Linked DNA regions of Homo sapiens: region 1 is linked to region 2. Evidence: promoter capture Hi-C in 16 types of primary human blood cells and fetal thymus (Javierre and others, 2016). All regions are on one chromosome and are shown on one strand. The core of a region is centred on a gene start or on the middle of the fragment in contact, and the rest is flanking DNA. Distances in the headings are between cores, read along the strand shown. Region 1 overlaps SYNPO (synaptopodin). Region 2 holds the start of DCTN4 (dynactin subunit 4).

What was found. The method cuts DNA at HindIII sites, captures the fragments that hold promoters and counts their contacts. A CHiCAGO score of 5 or more calls a contact.
Region 1: a contact is called between a fragment that was not itself captured here and the fragment with the promoter of DCTN4 in region 2, in 1 of 17 cell types (fetal thymus). The highest score is 5.2, in fetal thymus.

What each region holds. Positions count from the first base shown.
Region 1 is chr5:150,656,981-150,660,403 of GRCh38, forward strand. It overlaps SYNPO (synaptopodin), which reads left to right. Exons shown (of 3, transcript NM_007286.6): 3 at 1-2,227. The coding sequence ends at 107. Among named protein-coding and RNA genes, the nearest start is that of MYOZ3, 2.6 kb to the right of the region's middle. The HindIII fragment of the contact is 2,529 bases long and covers 259-2,787 here.
Region 2 is chr5:150,757,746-150,761,077 of GRCh38, forward strand. DCTN4 (dynactin subunit 4) reads right to left here and starts at 1,272. Exons shown (of 13, transcript NM_016221.4): 1 at 1,114-1,272. The coding sequence starts at 1,248. RefSeq lists enhancers at 548-617, 1,048-1,347. The HindIII fragment of the contact is 18,997 bases long and covers 385-3,332 here.

The DNA.
Region 1 (3,423 bases), core at 273-2,772, 100 kb before region 2:
CTAAGTCTCCAGGCATCCTGGGCTACAATATCTGTCCCCGCGGGTGGAATGGCAGCCTTCGGCTCAAGCGTGGCAGCCTCCCCGCCGAGGCCTCCTGCACCACCTAGAGCCCCACCCCCGACCCCACCCCGGGAGGGCAGAGCCAGAAGAAGGCTCATTAGACCTGGGGGACCCAAAGGGTCTGGCCTCTTTGGGCAGCCCCAGAGATGAGGGGTCAGCAGAGGAGAGCTCTGGGGTTGGGGATGGGTTAGGGACGCAAGCTTGAGTTCTAGCCCTTGCTCTCATTCAGCTGTTGTGTGACCCTGGGTAAGACCCTTCCTTGTTTGACCCTCAGCTTTCCCATCTGTTTAATGGTGGCTTTGGCCAAGGCAATCCACAAACGTCAAAATTCCCCTTCCCATCAGTACACACACCGATGCACACACACTCTCTCTTTCTCTCTCTCTCTCTCTCACACACACACACACACACACACACACACACACACACACACACACTAGTTAGTGCCTTGGATGAGGCGGGGCAGTGTGTATATGGACCCCTGGACTTGCTACCTTCAGGGTTCCATACTCGTCCCTCCCCTCCTGGCTCTGCTGTCTGGAGTCTGGCAAGCGGGGTGTGTTCAGAAGGTCCTAGGCCTGTGTCGCATGTCCAGGCACTGGCCTGACCATCCGGCTCCCTGGCACCAAGTCCCAGGCAGGAGCAGCTGTTTTCCATCCCTTCCCAGACAAGCTCTATTTTTATCACAATGACCTTTAGAGAGGTCTCCCAGGCCAGCTCAAGGTGTCCCACTATCCCCTCTGGAGGGAAGAGGCAGGAAAATTCTCCCCGGGTCCCTGTCATGCTACTTTCTCCATCCCAGTTCAGACTGTCCAGGACATCTTATCTGCAGCCATAAGAGAATTATAAGGCAGTGATTTCCCTTAGGCCCAGGACTTGGGCCTCCAGCTCATCTGTTCCTTCTGGGCCCATTCATGGCAGGTTCTGGGCTCAAAGCTGAACTGGGGAGAGAAGAGATACAGAGCTACCATGTGACTTTACCTGATTGCCCTCAGTTTGGGGTTGCTTATTGGGAAAGAGAGAGACAAAGAGTTACTTGTTACGGGAAATATGAAAAGCATGGCCAGGATGCATAGAGGAGATTCTAGCAGGGGACAGGATTGGCTCAGATGACCCCTGAGGGCTCTTCCAGTCTTGAAATGCATTCCATGATATTAGGAAGTCGGGGGTGGGTGGTGGTGGTGGGCTAGTTGGGCTTGAATTTAGGGGCCGATGAGCTTGGGTACGTGAGCAGGGTGTTAAGTTAGGGTCTGCCTGTATTTCTGGTCCCCTTGGAAATGTCCCCTTCTTCAGTGTCAGACCTCAGTCCCAGTGTCCATATCGTGCCCAGAAAAGTAGACATTATCCTGCCCCATCCCTTCCCCAGTGCACTCTGACCTAGCTAGTGCCTGGTGCCCAGTGACCTGGGGGAGCCTGGCTGCAGGCCCTCACTGGTTCCCTAAACCTTGGTGGCTGTGATTCAGGTCCCCAGGGGGGACTCAGGGAGGAATATGGCTGAGTTCTGTAGTTTCCAGAGTTGGCTGGTAGAGCCTTCTAGAGGTTCAGAATATTAGCTTCAGGATCAGCTGGGGGTATGGAATTGGCTGAGGATCAAACGTATGTAGGTGAAAGGATACCAGGATGTTGCTAAAGGTGAGGGACAGTTTGGGTTTGGGACTTACCGGGGTGATGTTAGATCTGGAACCCCCAAGTGAGGCTGGAGGGAGTTAAGGTCAGTATGGAAGATAGGGTTGGGACAGGGTGCTTTGGAATGAAAGAGTGACCTTAGAGGGCTCCTTGGGCCTCAGGAATGCTCCTGCTGCTGTGAAGATGAGAAGGTGCTCTTACTCAGTTAATGATGAGTGACTATATTTACCAAAGCCCCTACCTGCTGCTGGGTCCCTTGTAGCACAGGAGACTGGGGCTAAGGGCCCCTCCCAGGGAAGGGACACCATCAGGCCTCTGGCTGAGGCAGTAGCATAGAGGATCCATTTCTACCTGCATTTCCCAGAGGACTAGCAGGAGGCAGCCTTGAGAAACCGGCAGTTCCCAAGCCAGCGCCTGGCTGTTCTCTCATTGTCACTGCCCTCTCCCCAACCTCTCCTCTAACCCACTAGAGATTGCCTGTGTCCTGCCTCTTGCCTCTTGTAGAATGCAGCTCTGGCCCTCAATAAATGCTTCCTGCATTCTTCTGCCTCCTGTGTCATTTTCAGCTGTGTCTGATGTCCTTCCCTTCTCCCCAAGCATGGAGCAGTCCATGGGACTCTGGGTGGCTGGGAATATTTGAGACATATGGGATGGGAGCTTGGGAAGAAGCAGCCATGGGGAGAGATGGGAACAACGGACAACTTGAGGCCATAGAAGTACCTGGACTGCAGTCCTGGTCCTGTCATGGACGAGCGGGGTGACCCTGGGTGAGCCCACTCCTTCTCTAGGCCTCAGCTTCCCCATCCGTATAATGGGGAGAGTGGGTCTAGGTAATGTCTCAGGGTGGTATTGTCCAGGCCCTGACCACAGAGCACTATCACCAGAGTGGGCAGGGCCAAGCTGGGTCAGGGCTCTGTGCTCTGAGGCTGTTTCCTCATGGCAGGTGGGGGTGCCAGGGCAGGAAAGGCGCCACTGTAAGAGGTCCCGTCTGAGCCAGGCAGCCCCAGTGAGGCAAGGACTCGGGCCATGAGGCATCCTCTCCTGGCAGGAGTGTCCTTTGGCCAGAGAAGGGGATTGTGATCCTGCTCCCAGGTGAGGCTAAGCTTGCCCTGGGAACACACCTCACTCTTCCTCTCTAGAAGCTCAGGCCCACCGAGGGCCAGGAAGCTAAGGTCAGGGTGGTGGACAGCAGAATCTAGGCTTCTGATTTGAGAGGTGTCAGAAATACACCCCAGGATAGTCTGCCAGCACACAGACACCGGTGGTCCCCACCCTGCACCCAGCCCATCCTTGCTAGGCCCACCCTTCCCCAGGAGTGTGTGCCTTGGACCCAATCTTTATCTTCGGCTGGGGCCTCACTGCAGCACAGTGTCCCATTGCCTACTGGTGATCTCATCCCAGTCCCCCGACACCTCAAAGTTCATCCAAAACTGACCTCAGTGTCTGCCCCCACCCCTCCTGCTCCTCCCCTTCCAGTCACCCAAGCATGAAACAGGGGAGTGGGACTCCCTTTCCTCACCTTCCACATCCAGTTCCTCACCAAGACCCAAGGGTTCTTCAAATAACCCTCAACTCCCTCTCCTCTCCATCTCCTTGTCACTGCCCTGATCCAGCCACCCCTGGTGACAGTCAGGTCCTCCTGCCTCCAGTCTGGCCCCCTCCAACCCATTTCCCACATGGCAGCAAAGATATCTTTGGAAAATGCCAATCCGATCACTCCATTTCACCACTTTAATC
Region 2 (3,332 bases), core at 22-2,521:
TATCTTCAATAAAATAAGTTATTAATAACACATAAAATGGCTTATAGTATGTGTTTTCATATGCATTTATTTTAACAGTCCCGGGATCTTCAGTAAAAAACACTCTGAGTTAGGCTGTTTAGATTCAAATCCAGGTCCTCCTTCCCACCCCCAAATTACTGGCTGTGTGACTTACAGCGAACACTCTGTATCTGTTTCTTTACCTGTAAAAAAAATTTTTTAAAAAAAGTATCCACTTAAATTGGTTTGAAGATTACATAAAGCACATGACATATAGCAAGTATCGAATAAGCAGCAACTATTACTACTATCAGCTTTTTCTTCACTAAGACTATGGCTTATTAAACAGCGCATTTTATGTCTTACTCGCCTTTTAATCCCTAAAGCTTACTGAATAAACAAGATGTGCCAAGCGCTGCAGAAGTTTTGGGGTTTTGTTATTTGGTGACTTTTTACTGGCCGGGGTCTTCTTTTTGAAAAATCCAACTTCGGACGCCCACTTGTGCCAGGGAAGGACAGCATTGTCCTCTAGCTCCATAAATACACTTTCAGCTTCTTACATGACATACTGTATTCTGAGCGCTTTTCACATAACTCACGCCGCCCCAACCTCTTCCCGGCTGCAGGCCTTGGCCTGAGTCAGGAACAGGGCAAGGCAGTCTGACGAGGGCCCAGTTTCTGGACAAAAGAGGAACAGAACTTTCAGGATGGGAGAACTATGAATGAGAACGCCTGCGCCTCCCTCCATCCTCGCAATAAATCCTGGAAAGGCAGTTTTTCGCCCCTTAAGTGGCCTGAACTAAGCACCCCCAGACCTTTCTCCGTAGTCCACCCAATTACCAAGCCCCATCGCAGACAGACACGGTCCCTAAGTCAAGTTTGTCCAATCAGAGGCCGCTCTAGAACCAGAAGATCCGCTCAGTCCCACCCGAGGCTGCTCCTCCTTTCCAAGTGACAGATTAGAAGCAAATTAAATCGCAGGCAAACCCGAGTGACGGAAGACATAACCAATCAGTAAGGAAGGAAAATAGCTCCAGCCTTCCGGTGGCAGTGACTAGCATGAACGCCGCGCCCCCCCCACCCCACATACTCGCTATAGGGCGACTCTGTTACCTCGTGAGACACACATTCCAGCGACCGCAGTTCGCTACAATAGCGGCAGAAGTAGAGTTGCGAGAGCGGGGCCCGAACCTTCTTTTCTCCCTGGACTAGATAGAGAACCCGGTCCGACTGCAGCAAGGACGCCATCTTGGGGAGGGAGGAGGCGATGACGCTCCCGGCGCATCACGTGACCCGAGAGCCAGCGTCTTCCTCGCTGCCTTCCCTACGACTTCCTACGTAGACTTTGACGTTAGGTTTCCCACCTCGTCCGGCTCTGCGCCCGTCGAAAACCAGAGCGCGCGTGCGCAGCTGGGATCCCTGTTTTCTCCCCAACTCTGGGCCCGTCCCCCAGCGCTTTTGTGAGCGTCCACTGCCCTTACTGCCATTAGGTCTGGACTCAGTGAGCTCCTTTTATTCTTTTCTTCCAGAATGGAAGCCTGATCTTTTGTCTTATTTACGACGGCCTCCTCTGCCCCACTTAACAGGCGAGCATCCAGGAGACAAATGGAAGGTCTCAAAGGGACAGGGCTCCGTGGGGACTGCAAGACAGGAGTCACACCAGCACTGTCTTCTGAGTCTTGCCAATGGCCTTTGGGAACTTTCACATACATTATCTCATTTGAAACGCAGGTTTTTGAGTACATAGTTAGCGTTAGGTCTAAGTCTGTATTGTGGACCTTCAATAAGTATGAAAAGGAGGGAATGAAATCAATGAATGAACAATGTTGGTAGGCGTCTACGTTTTTCTAATGTGTAAACTAAGGCTCAGGTCTGCCTCTTGGGTGAGCAGCGACTACGTGAGACTGGTATTACATGGGTGGGAAAATAATTTATCAACAGTTTTAGGTAAAGAAATGCAGATTTATTAGAGAAGGTATGAAAATACGTTGAAAGGTTGCAATGGGCAGACCAGCCAGAGAGGAGCTGACTTCAAGGAAACAAAGGCTTGCTGGAGATTTTATCCGATGGTTCTTGGGCTGCAGAGTGCTGTGCAGTACCGAGAACTCCAAGGTTACAGGGAGCTAACTTGCATGTGTCTCGTGATAGCTGAGTGCAGGAAGATTGTGAGTTATTTGCACAGGAGGGCTACGTGTCCTGCACCATGAAGAAAGGCAGACTTAGAGTGCATCTGCTCTTCTTGCTATCCCTTGGTCCCACTAGCCTGACTCCCTTTCTCTAACTGGGACTCCCCAGTATGTAAAATGACCACCTAGAACTGCCTAGCAGAAACTGGAGCCTCTGTTGCCTGCCACCAGGTCTACATTTTTATAATTGTAGTAGTGTTGTATTATTACCTGTCTGACGTTAGAGTTGGTGATTGAGAAGAAAGGGAACTGAATACTATTAGCAAACATTTATTGAGCACTTATTAAGTGCAGCACACTGTGTCAAAACTTTACATACATTGTCTAATTTAATTCTTACAACAGCTCCAAAAAGCATGTGGCTATCATTATTTCTATTTTACAGAGCAGGAAACTGAGGCACAGGGAAGTGCAGTGACTCCTCTATAAGGTTTCATAGATGGAGGTAGAACCCTTTTCTCTCTGACTCTAGTGCTTGCAGGTATAACCCCTATGTATACTCCCTCCAGCATATTTTCTAATATGGTGATGTTAATAATACCTTACATTTATATAGACCTTTTCAGCTTATACAGTGCTAATCTCACAATTTATGTCACGCTTTACCAATTGAGCCTAAAAGTCATTACTTGTTCACCAAGCAATAGCCTGGCACTAATTTAGTTTCATAGGTGACATCTGCTCCTAGGAGAGAATATATTACTAGCCAACTCATTTGCAATTATTTCTTTAGGTTAATGAATTCGTTGGTTTTCTGGTTTATAAACTAGTCTCTACTGAGTTTAAATTCCCTTTTCTGGACTATGCTGTTAAAATGAAGTCCCAGAGCCTGCAGGTACAGAAAGGCTGGAGACTTGAGCTGAATCCACATAAAACAGACACTTTTTAGAGCACTGATTTTAAATAATTAAGTGGCCAATTATCTTGTCCCTGCTACATGCCAGGTACTGGGGAGGGAACTAGCGATAAATGAGATACTTTCCATCCTCAAAGGCTCAGGGTTCTAGCAGGATCGAGTCCTAGTTATGCACAATGGTGACCAGCTTGATAATGTAGCCTTGTGTTGCTTTTTCACTCTACCCAGCCCTGGACTCACCCTCATTCACTTCTCAATCCTGGCTTCCTGCCTGCAGAATCTCATTTTGA